Regions from separate parts of the Homo sapiens genome. Here region 1 is linked to region 2. The links are contacts of gene promoters, found by promoter capture Hi-C in human tissues and cell types (Jung and others, 2019). All regions are on one chromosome and are shown on one strand. The core of a region is centred on a gene start or on the middle of the fragment in contact, and the rest is flanking DNA. Distances in the headings are between cores, read along the strand shown. Region 1 holds the start of TNS4 (tensin 4). Region 2 holds the start of CCR7 (C-C motif chemokine receptor 7).

What was found. Contacts are between HindIII fragments. The study calls those that stand out against the background at their distance.
Region 1: a contact is called between the fragment with the promoter of TNS4 here and the fragment with the promoter of CCR7 in region 2, in 1 of the 25 tissues and cell types used here (heart right ventricle).

Annotation. Positions count from the first base shown.
Region 1 is chr17:40,498,300-40,503,963 of GRCh38, forward strand. It overlaps TNS4 (tensin 4), which reads right to left and starts at 3,324. Exons shown (of 13, transcript NM_032865.6): 1 at 3,235-3,324. RefSeq lists an enhancer at 866-1,737. The HindIII fragment of the contact is 10,438 bases long and covers 1-5,664 here.
Region 2 is chr17:40,564,065-40,570,173 of GRCh38, forward strand. CCR7 (C-C motif chemokine receptor 7) reads right to left here and starts at 1,408. Exons shown (of 3, transcript NM_001838.4): 1 at 1,336-1,408. The coding sequence starts at 1,345. RefSeq lists an enhancer at 47-963. The HindIII fragment of the contact is 11,021 bases long and covers 1-6,109 here.

The DNA of each region.
Region 1 (5,664 bases), core at 2,074-4,573, 64 kb before region 2:
TCCTCATCTGTGAGATGGTAATGAGAATTCCTGCACCCTCCCAGAGAGTGTTATGGAACCAGTGAGGTGCTCCTTGTGAAGGTAGTTAGGCAATTCTAAATAGTACTTAGAAATAAGGACTTATGGAGTATAACAGCCTCATAATAGTAGCTTCCATTTATTGAGCGCTGACCATGTGCCAAATAGTTTACATACGAATTACATTGGTAACTCAATCCTCTCACAGCTCTAGGAAGTACTGCACCCTATTGTCAGTCCTCTTGTTTTTTTTTCTTGAGACAAGGTGTCGCTCTGTTGCCCAGGCTAGAGTGCAGTGGCACAGTCATGGCTCACTGCAGCCTTGACCTCCTGGGGCTCAAGCGATTCTCCCAGCTCACCCTCCCGAGTAGCTGGGACTACAGGCTTGTGCCCTATACCCAGAGAATTTTTTGTAGAAAGAGGGTCTCACTTTGTTGCCCAGGCTGGTCTTGAACTCCTGGGCTCAAGTGCTCCTCCTTCCTCGGCCTCCCAAAGTGCTAGGATTACAGGTGTGAGCCGCTGTGCCTGGCCTTATTTATTTATTTTGAGTTGTCAGTCCATTTTACAGATGAAGATGCTGAGACTCGGAGAGGTCAAGAAACACGCTTCACATCCAGAAAGATGGTGGAGCTGGGATTCAAACCCAGGTGTGGGATTTTGGAATCTTAATTCCTTATGCTAAGGGAGGAGACCACCCCTCATATTGTCTTATGCCCAATTTCTGCCTCCAAAGAAAGAAAAAGTAAAAACTAAAAGGCAGAAATGAAATCCACAAGCAGACAGCCCAGCGCCACACCCTGGGCCTGGTAGTTAAAGATCGACCCCTGACCTAATCGGTTATGTTATCTATAGATTACAGACATTGTATAGAAATGCACTGTGAAAATCCCTTTCCTGTTTTGTTCCCACGTAATTACCGGTGCGTGCAGCCCCCAGTCACGTACCCCCTGCTTGCTCAATTGATCACGACCCTCTCACACGCACCCCCTTAGAGTTGTGAGCCCTTAAAAGGGACAGGAAATGCTCACTCGGGGAGCTCGGCTCTTGAGACAGGAGTCTTGCTGATGCCCCCGGCCGAATAAACCCCTTCCTTCTTTAACTTGGTGTCTGAGGAGTTTTGTCTGCGGCTCGTCCTGCTACAATGCCACATGGAATTCAAGTGCAGAGGGACACCTGGGATCTAGAGAGGGGGCATGATTGGCTGAAGGTCGCACAGGTTTCATGAGAAAAGCCAGGGCCCCTTCCCCTCTCCTGCCTCCCCCAACGCCCGTGGCTCCGGTAGGTCTGATGCCAGACTTTTCCTTGGCCAGGTCCTGCAGGGGGCGGGGCATCCCGGGCACGGGAAGCTTTCTATAAATGGAAGTGGAAGGGAGCCGGCCTCTGCGCTCCCGCCCTCCCGGGACAGCTGAGGACACAGAGCCGGAACCACGGCTTTTTCCACACAGGCTCCAAGTGGACTGGGTTTGTTGGGACAGGATCTGGGCGCTCCCTGCAGGGTTTTCTGGCTGTGTCCTGCAGAGGAGGCTGGGGCTGCTGACTTTGCAGAGCTCAAGGAGGGCTGGGTGTCCCCTCGCAACCAGGACCCAGTATACCTGCTTACTAATTTGGACACAGCTTTTGTGCCACGCTGGGCAAGCGTCCTTTCCTCTCTGGGCAGACCTCAGTTGTCCCATCTGTGTGATGGGGATGTGATAATAACAGACACTGAACACCTTGCATTTTCTCAACAGCTCTCTGAGGAGGGTGCTATTGCTGCAGGGCTGGAGAGGTTGAGGAATTTGCCCAAGGTCATACAACCCCAACTGTGAATTGGGGTTTAAACCCAGGTGGTCTTGCTCCACGGTCCCACACTTTTAGCCTCTGCTGCTGCTTCACATATTTAAGAACCCTGTCCACCGCTGCCCCTTCTGGGATTCTGGAACCAAGAGGGACAGACCTGGAGCTGAGCAAAGGGCAGGCAGCCCCTACGCTCCTCTTCAGCCTCCCCTCACTTTTAAGGCTCTGCGTCGCCCTTGGATGTACCAAGGCAGGGCTCCATCTTACTCCTGTATTCCTGAATGCTGCCCCCTTCGCGGCCCCGCACACTCCTCTAACTTGCTCTTTCTTGCTGTAAGTGGTGGGGAGAGTCCCTGGGCCCGGGGCTCTGTGTGGTTGGGAGGCACGGGGCGGGGGCAAGGAGGGCTCCAGCCACCTCTGCTCTATTTGTAGGTGCCCCCTACCCGCTCCCACTTCTGATTCTGACTCAGATCTCTTTCTTTGTTCCCAAGGACTCTGGGGAGTCCTGGTGCCTTGGCAAATCCCCTCTTCCGTGTCATTGCCAACCTCTTCTCCTGACTTACTCTCTCCCAATGAGCCCAGGTCAGTGAAGGGAGAGGGTGGGGCAAGGGTAAAGCCTGAGTCTCCCCCAAAGCACTTTGCCTCATTAGCCCAATCTCCACTGCACCCCCTATTTTTGAAAACTGGCTCCCGATCTTCCCATCCCTCCCACCCAGACCCGGTGACGCAGGACGTGGACCTCAGGCAGGGACCCATAGGACCAGTGAAGGCCAGCCGCCCCATCTCCCAGTCCTGTCTACCTCTGAAGTGCCCAGAGGGCTCCCAGAGCGCTGGGAGGCGAGAGGCCTGGGTTCTGTGTCCAGTCCCTTTCCATGACCTCAGGCAAGCCTCTTCTCTGTGGCCCTCAGCTCTCTCATCTATTTGCCGAGGGGCACAGGTTTAGTTCCCTTGAACTGCTGAACTCCGCGGTCTGTGATCCTGAGACCATCTCTGTCTCATCCACATCCTCCACCCCATTTCTCCCCACCTTCACTCTGAGCCCTGAGAAATGGAGAAGCTGAAGACAAAAGGTTAAATGAGGCTGGGCTCACGCCTGTAATTCCAGCACTTTGGGAGGCTAAGGTGGGAGGATCACCTGAGGTCAGGAGTTTGAGACCAGCCTGGCCAACATGGTGAAACCGCGTCTCTACTAAACATAAGAAAATTAGCCGGGCATGGTGGCAAACATCTGTAATCCCTGTTACTTGGGAGGCTGAGGCAGGAGAATCGCTTGAACCCTGGAGGCAGACGTTGGCAGTGAGCCGAGATCGCGCCACTGCACTCCAGCTTGGGTGACAGAGCAAGACTCCATCTCAAAAAAAAAAAAAAAAATGTTTAAATGAATCAGGGCCAGCAAAGGTGCTCCGTGTTCCTCTCTTCTTAAAGAATAAAGGCACCTACCTGGTGTCCACAGGTGGGCAGACTGTTGCCTTCACTACTGGCTCCTGGGACCAAGACGACTCAGAGTCCAGGTGAAGAGTCAGGAGAGGCGCCAGTTCACCTCCAGACCTGCCTTAAAAGCAGCTTGCCCGCCTTCTCTCCTCCCCTCCGGGCGGGCCCTGCACGTGGCCCTGACAGCAGTAGGCCCCACCCCTGCTGGATCCAGTGAGCTCAGGTGGGGCTGGCACAGGCAGCAGGAAGGGAAGCACTGGGTGGTGGGTTTTGGGTCTGGGTGTGTGTGAGGGGCTCCCAAGTTCCTGCTTGGGCTTCTCGTGGCACCACATGGCCAGGGAGTCCTTGCTTGGACAGGGCATAGCTAGAATCAAGGTGTGCAGTGGGCACTCCTCAGGTGCTGGCTGGGGCAGAGGCCATGGGTTGGCAGAGCTGGCAGAGAGTGAGGGCCTTGACAAAGCAGGATGCCAGTGGGCAGGAGACCCTCTGCAGTCCCCCTTTGTGCTGGGTCACACTGGGACAGGCACAGGGTAAGGGCCCACTGGAAGTAAGGCTAGGCACGAGCTTGTCTTTTCTTCTTTCTCTCCTTTTACAGTAATGACTCTAGCTTGGGATGGGGCCTCTAACTCAAGGAAAGGAGGCTGAAGTGTCTGGAGGGCTTTGAGAAGGGGCTTATAGCTGTTCCTTCACTCATGGGCTATCTCTGTCCCTCGTCTGGTCTGTGCCCCAGGGTGGAAGTTCCCTGAGGGGAGGACATTGGAGGGTGAGATCAGGAAGCCCAGAAGTCTGGTCTGGTAGCTCCTTCTCCATGGTTCCAACTCTCTCCCTGTTCTAGAGGGGCAGGGGTCCTAGAATGTTGTAAGGAGGTGTTCAGACATGGTGAGGGGAGGGTGCTGATGGCAGAGCCTGGTCTGGGAGCGGTCTGAAGTGAGGGAGCTGGCGAAGTCTCCAGCCCAGGGACTCATGGTGATCCCAGTAGGCTAATCTCAGGGGTGGGTTGCCCCATGCCCCCATTATGCCCAGTGGAAGGGCTTCTGGCCTTACAGTTTTTGATGCCCTGGGGTTTCACTGAGGCATGGTGAACTAGTGCATGGGAGGCCGGTGAGCAAAGCTATGGAAAGTTATATAAGGTGCCCCTTCCTGATGGTGACATAAAAGGTGTCCCTAGGTGTCCATGCAGCCTTGTTGGCACATGGCTTGATGAGCAATTATGTCTTTGGATGAAAAATGTGGTGCTCCTGCCCTGGAGTGGATGTCACTGCACATGGCGGCTTCCCCCATGAGGCTGTGGCTCATGATTGTGGGAGAGTGGGAGGGGCGACTCGTGAGTTTCTTGAGTGGAAGGGGCAGGTTACAGTAGGGCGAAGTGTTGGGCAGAGACTGTGGCAACTCCGGGGTAACCCTGGCCATCTCCCCTGGGGCTGGTATGGATAGCCTCTGCAGTGGTTCTTCAGGGCCAGGGGGTCCTCCAGCCTTACAGACCCATACCTGGGGGTTATGGTCTTTCTTGGCAGATTGGCTCTTTTGTTTCACACCCAGCTGCTTCCTTTAGCTTAAGATGGTCTCAGAACAGTGATTTCAGCCCCAGCTGCCTCACAAACCCTGCCCAACACCACATCACTGCCCTTTGCCGTGATCATCAAGGGATGGATGGAGTGGCATTTCTTTATACATCTATAGATATGACATTTTTTCTTTAGCCTATGGATGTGATAGATTACATTAATTTACTTTTGAATTTTGAACCCTCCTTGCATACCTGGGATGAACCCCCTGGTCATGGTATATAATTCTTTTTTTTTTTGTGATGGGGTCTTGCTATGTTGCCCAGGCTGGTCTCAACCTCCCGGACTCAAGTGATCTTCCCACTTCAGACTTTGGAGTAGCTGGGATTACAGACATGTACCACTATGCCTGGGTCTGTATAATTCTTCTAATACATTGTTGGGTTCAATTTGCTAACATTTTGTGGAGGATTTTTGCATCTATGTTCATGAGTGATATTGGTGTCTAGTTTTCTTTTGTATCTCTGGTTTCAGCAATGCTGGCCTCATAAAATGAGTTGGGAAGTGTTCCTTCTGCTTCTATCTTCTGAAAGAGGTTGTAGAGAAGTGGTCCTATTTCTTCCTCAAATGTTTGGTAGATTTCACCAGTAAAACTGTCTGGTCCTGGTGCTTTCTGTTTTGGAAGGTTATTAATTATTAATTCAATTCTTTGCTAGATATAAGCCTATTCACAGCATTTCTTTTCAACCTCAAAATACACTATTTCCCTAGTTGACGGGGGCACCTTGTCCTACATCTACTCTTCTGAAAGAAGGGATTCCAAGTAGATTAAAAAAAAAAAGTCCAGCCTATATTTTGATGTATTCTGCATGTCTCTCACTAAGGGAGAGGGAAAATCAATTAAAGAAACCAAGAAATGGCCGGGTGCAGTGGC
Region 2 (6,109 bases), core at 158-2,657:
GTGGGTGACGTCTGTACTGTGGGATTGTGATGGGGGGTGGTGGAGGGGGTGCAGGGGAGTGGGATTTAAGGGTAGATTGGCTGGGAAATGAGGCATTTGGAAGAGATTTTCAAAAACTAAACTCTACGGAGTTCTTGATACGGTGTATTCATTCATTCCGCAGACATTTTCTCCTCACATCCTCAAAGCACCTGAACCTGCCTTTCAGGAGTTCACAGTCAGTGGGTGGGGTGACCACTTTAACCCTTTCACAGCTGTTTGCTGGGTCCAGATCCAGCGTTCAGGGCAGGCGGGAAAGTAAGAGATGAAATCAAGGAGGCTGTGGTGTGGCGAGGAGGGGTGTGAGGACAGCACCAGGGAACCTTCACTTTTTAAAGCCAACCCTTTGCGGCTTTGAGGCCGCCGTGGTGCATTGTTTGCTGGTGAGACAAGCCATCTAGGAACCTGGTCTTCTTAGCCTCAGCCTGGTCTGACTCCACAGCTGAGATTTATAAAGGGGGCGTCTGGAGCTGGATGAACCACTCAGAACACCCTCAGTGCTTCCCCTTGACCCCTTCTAGGTTAGACCTGAGAAAGGGCTTTCTAAAGAGTAGAGTTATCTGCCGGGGCAGAGTGCGTGAGGTTTGCTCAGGGGCAGGGGCTGTGCTGAAGGCCTGGCTATGATTTCTCCAAGCTGAGTGCCCCTTGCCATCCCATTCCATGTTGCCTGCCCGTTCCTTAACTTGCAAGAGGCAACAGCAAAGCCAGATCAAAGCAGGTGGGATGTGCAGCAGAGAGAAAGCAACCAGAGCTTGCATTTGCAATGCACCGCACCATTCTCACAACCCAGTCACGTTTCATTTGCATCTCCTCATGACCCCAAGTGGACAGGTATATGAATATTTGGCAGGGGAGAAAGGTGGGAATCAGAGAGTGGGTAAAAGGTCCTAAGCTCTCTAGGGAGAATTTCTCTGTTGAAACCTGTCCCCAGAGGTCCCAGAGGGCCTAACCTATCACCCTCATGATGAGAACAGGTTCTGCCAGACCACCAAGCCCAGCCCCGCCACTCTCTTATGTCCCTGCTGTTTTAGAAAGACATGATCTCGGCCCCTCCCTTGTCCCCACTGGCACCAAAGGCTGACCCCTTCTCCAGGTCTGAAAGGGCAGGTGCACCCCTCCTGGGACAGCAGGGGGCATTCTCTGGAAGTAGCTTCCAATGCCCACCAAATCAGAACTGATTTCTCCAGGAAGCACCCCTATGCGCTCCACCCGCATCCTCCACCCCCATTCCACAGGGTCAGTCTGGGTGTCCAAGACCCTGGTACTGTTCCTTCTCACATGAAGAGGCTCACTCACCCAGGTCCATGACGCTCTCTGGGCGGTAAAACCACACAGGAAGGCTGTGCCCGGCCTCGCACTACCCCTGTCTGGGGAGGAAGTGGTTCAAGCCCCTTTTAAGTTGTCGGAGAAGCCACCCTCTTCCCTGCCCCTCCCACCCTTGCTCCTCCCCCCAGCCCTCCCTGACTCATGCAGGGCCCCTTCAATGCCTTCAGAGATAAAGGGGCAGAAGAAAGGTGACAGAGGGTGACAGTCGCTGGTCATAGGATCCTGAATCATTAGGTCATTTACATTCAAAAAGCCCCCTGCGCTGCCTGGCAGAATCTAGATGAGGGGCCATTTACTGATTCAACAAATATTTATAGCATGAATATCACATGCCAGGCCATGGGTTAGATGTTGGGGAGTCAGAGATGTGTGAGAGAAGTGTCCCCATCCTTCCCTTGCTCTGCTCAGTGTCACAGTGGAATATAGTCCCAAATGGCTTTCCCTCTGGCTTCTGGGTAGTTTAGGCCAATGGGAGGCACTGACACATAATGACAGGTAAAAGGGAAGAGATATGCCACGATGTATCTTTTTTCTCCCCCCTTCCCCTCCCCTCCCCTCCCTCCCCTTTCCCTCTTCTCCCCTCCCTTCCTTTTCCTTTCTTAATGACAGCTTTATTGAGCTATAATCCACATCCCATAAAATTTACCTTTTTAAAGTATAGAATTCAATGGTTTTTGTATGTTCACAGAGTTATGCAACCATCACCACAATACATTTTAGAACATTTTTTCTCACTCCCTCTCAAGAACCCTGTAATCACTAGCAATGACTGCTCCCCTCCCCTCCTGTCATCGAAAGCCCCTGGCAACCACAAATCTACTTTCTGGCTCTATAGATTTTCCTATTCTGAACATTTCACATAAATAGAAGTATCAATATGTGACCTTCACATCTGGCTTCTTTCAGTTAGTGTTTTCAAGGTTACCTATGTGGTGGTATGGATCCATTCCCCATTCCTTTTTATGGCTGAATAACATTCCATTGTATGGATATGCCACATTTTGTTTGTCTGTCATCAGTTGGATGTTTGGGCTGTTTTCCCTTTTAGCTATTATGAATGATGCTGCTATAAATATTTATGTGCAAGTGTTTGTGTGGACATATGCTTTATTTCTCTTGGGTATATACCTAGAAGTGAAATTGTTGAGTCATATGGTAATTATATATTTAACATTTTGACGAACTATCAAACTGTTTTCCAAAGTGACTACACCATTTTGTTCCCATCAACAATGCGTGAGGGTTCCACATTGTCAACAAAACTTACTATTGTCCATTCTTTTGATTCTAGCCATCCTAGTGGCTGTAAAGTGGTATCTCATTGTGTTTTTTTTCTTTTTTCTTTTTTTTTTTTGGAGATGGAGTCTTACTCTGTTGCACAGGCTGGAGTGCAGTGGCACGATCTTGGCTTACTGCAGTCTCCACCTCCTGGGTTCAAGTGATTCTCCTGCCTCAGCCTCCCAAGTAGCTGGGACTACAGGCACGTGCCACCATGCCTGGCTAATTTTTGTATTTTTAGTAGAAACGGGGTTTCACCATGTTGGCCAAGCTGGTCTCAAACTCCTAACCTAAGGTGATCTGCCAGCCTCGGCCTCCCAAAGTGCTGGGATTGCAGGCATGAGCCACCATGCCCGGCCTCTTTGTAGTTTTGATATGCGTTTTCCTAATGACTACCTATGCTGAGCATCTTTTCATGCTCTTATTGACCATTTGTATTATTTTTTGAGAAATTTCTATTCAAATCCTTTGCCCATTTAAAAAATTGGGTTATTTATTTTTTATTATTGAGTTGTAAGACTTCTTTATATATTCTGGTTACAATCCCTTATCTGATACATATCTGTAAATATTTTCTCCCTTACTATGGATCATCTTTTCACTTTCTTGATAGCGTCCTTTGAAGCACAAAGGCTTTTTGTTTTTTAAAACCTGAATCTCTGGCAAAAGAAGCGCAAAGTTTTAAATGTGGAGGTTCAATTGATTTATTTTTCTTTTGTCAATTGTGTCTTTGGTGCCATATCTAAGAAACCATTGCATAATTCAAGTATACAAAGATTTATTCGTATATGTTCTTTTAAGACTTTTATAGTTTTAGCTGCAACATTTAGATCTGATCCATTTTGAGCTAATTGTTGCATATGGTGTGAGGTAGGGATCCAGCTTCATTTTTTATATGGATATCTAGTTTTCCCAGCATCATTTGTTGAAAAGACTATTTTTTCCACCATTGAACTGTCTTAGCACCTCTGTTGGAAATCAATTCATCATAAATGTAATGGTTTATTTCTAGACTATCAATTCTATTTTATCAATCTCTGTGTCTGTCCTATGACAGTACCACACTGTCTCGATTACTGTAGCTTTATAGCAAATTTTGAAATTGGGAGTTGTGACTGCTCCAACTTTATCTGTCTTTTTAAACATTGTTTGACTAATCTGCATCTCTCTCTTTTCCATATGAATTTTAGGTTATCAATTTCTGCAATGAAACCAGCTGGGATTCTAATAGGAATTTCATTGAATCTGTAAATCAATTTAGGGAGTATTGCCATTCTAACAAAGTCTTTTGGTCCATGAACATGGGATTTTTTTCATTTATTTAGGTCTTCCTTAATTTCTTTATACTTTTTAGGCTGCAAGTCTTTCACTTCTTTGTTAAATTTTTTCTTAAGTATTTTACTCTTTTTGATGTGCTTGTAAATGAAATTGTTTTCTTAATTTTATTTTCAAAGATGGCCAACTAGAAGCAGGTATGGGGCATGGCTCTCTCAGAGAGGAACAAAGGGGTGGGTACTTCAAAACCTTTATCTGAAACATCCAGATACTTGCATTGGGACTGATTAAGGAATCAGCTCGACCCACAGAGGATAGAGGAAAGCAGGGCAGGGCAATGGCCTACATAGGAGCAACACAGACCCAAAGGAAACCCCCTCCCCTCCCCCCACCAGGGAAGTGGTGAGTGAATGTGCAAACCTGGGGAATGATGCTTCTCCCACCGATCTTTGCAACCTTTGGATCGGGAGATCCCCTGTGAACCCACTCCACCAGGCCTTTGGGTCTTACACACAGAGCTGCATTGGATTATTGGCAGAGCAGCTGCTCAGGCATGCACAGACACCCAGGAGCTTTACATACTCAGGCTCCGGAACCCCAGCAAAGGTGACCGCCATTCAGGCAAGGCAGGAGGTCTGTACATACCCCTAGGAAGGAGGCTGAATCCAGGGAGCTGAGCAGCATTGGTCTGTGGGCCTCACTTCCACAGCACCTCACCAGATAAGACCAACTGGCTTGGAATTCCAGCCAGCCACGGGCAACAGTGTAGCACCTACCTGAGACAAGGTGGAGTTCTGGGGGTGGCTGGGGTGGGGGTGAGGGGCACCACCTTTGCTGTTTGGACGACTCAGCTGTTCCAGCCTGTAGACTTTGGAGAGTCCAAACCCACCAGGTGTGGAAAGGATCCCCCAGCACAGCACAGCTGCTCTGCCAAAACGTGGCCAGACTGTTTTTTTAAGCAGGACTCCTATCCATTCCTCCTCACTGGGTGGGTCTTCCCAAACAAGGCCTTCAGCCACCTCTGCCCATTTTCTACAGCCCATAAAATTTTGATCTCTCCCTGGGACAGGGTGCCTGGATGGTGGAGAGGGCTGCCACCTTTGCTGTTTGGGCATCCCAGCCATTCCAGCCTTTCAGCTTTGGGGAGCTCAAACCAACTGGGGGCTGAAAGGATCTCCCAACGTGGCACAGCTGCTTTACCAAAATATGGCCAGACTGCTTCTTTAAGAGGGTCCCTAATCCATTCCTTCTCACTGGGCAGGACCTCCCAACTGTGGCCTCCAGCCACTCCTGTCGATGTTCTCTGGCTGACAGAGATTTGAAGACTTCCTGGGACAGAGCTCCTCGGGGGAGGGGCAGGCTGCCATCTTTGCTGTTTTGGCGACTTAGCCACACCAGTCTCCAGGCTTTGGAGATCCCAAGCCAACTGGGGATGCAAGTGGTGCCCAGCATAGCATAGTTTCTCTTCGGAAGTGTGGTTAGATTGCTTCTTTCAGTGGCTCCCCAATCCTGTTCCTCCTGACTGGGTGAGACCTCCCAAATGGGGTCTCCGGCCATCTCCTACAGGTGTGTTTAGGCCAGCAATAGGTTCATACCTCCCTGGGATGGAGCTCCCAGGGGAAGGGGCAGGTTGCCATTTTTGCTGTTTCACAGCCTTCACTGGTGATACCTCCAGGTACTGGAAAATCCAAAGTGACTAGAGTCTGGAGGGGACCCTCAGCAAGCCACAGCAGCTTTATGGAAAAGTGGCCAGATTGTTAAAAGAAAAACAAAAGAAACCCCAAAACCCCATCCAAAGGTCAGCAACCTCAAAAATCAAAGGTAGATAAGCCCACAAAGATGAGAAAGAATCAGCATAAAAACACTAAAAACTCAAAAAGCCAAAGTGCCTTCTTCCTTCCAAATGACTGCAGCATCTCTCCAGCAAGGGTTTGGAACTGGGGTAAGGCTAAGATCACTGCAATGAAAGAAGTAGACTTCAGAATGTGGATAAAAATGAACGTCGCTGAGCTAAAGAAGCAAGTTGTAACCCAATGCAAGGAAGCTAAAAATCATGATAAAACAATGCAGGAGCTGACAGCCAAAATAGATATTATAGAGAAGAACATAACTGACCTGATCGAGCTGAAAAACACACTACAAGAACTTCACAATGCAATCAGAAGTATTCATAGAAGAATAGGCCAAGTTC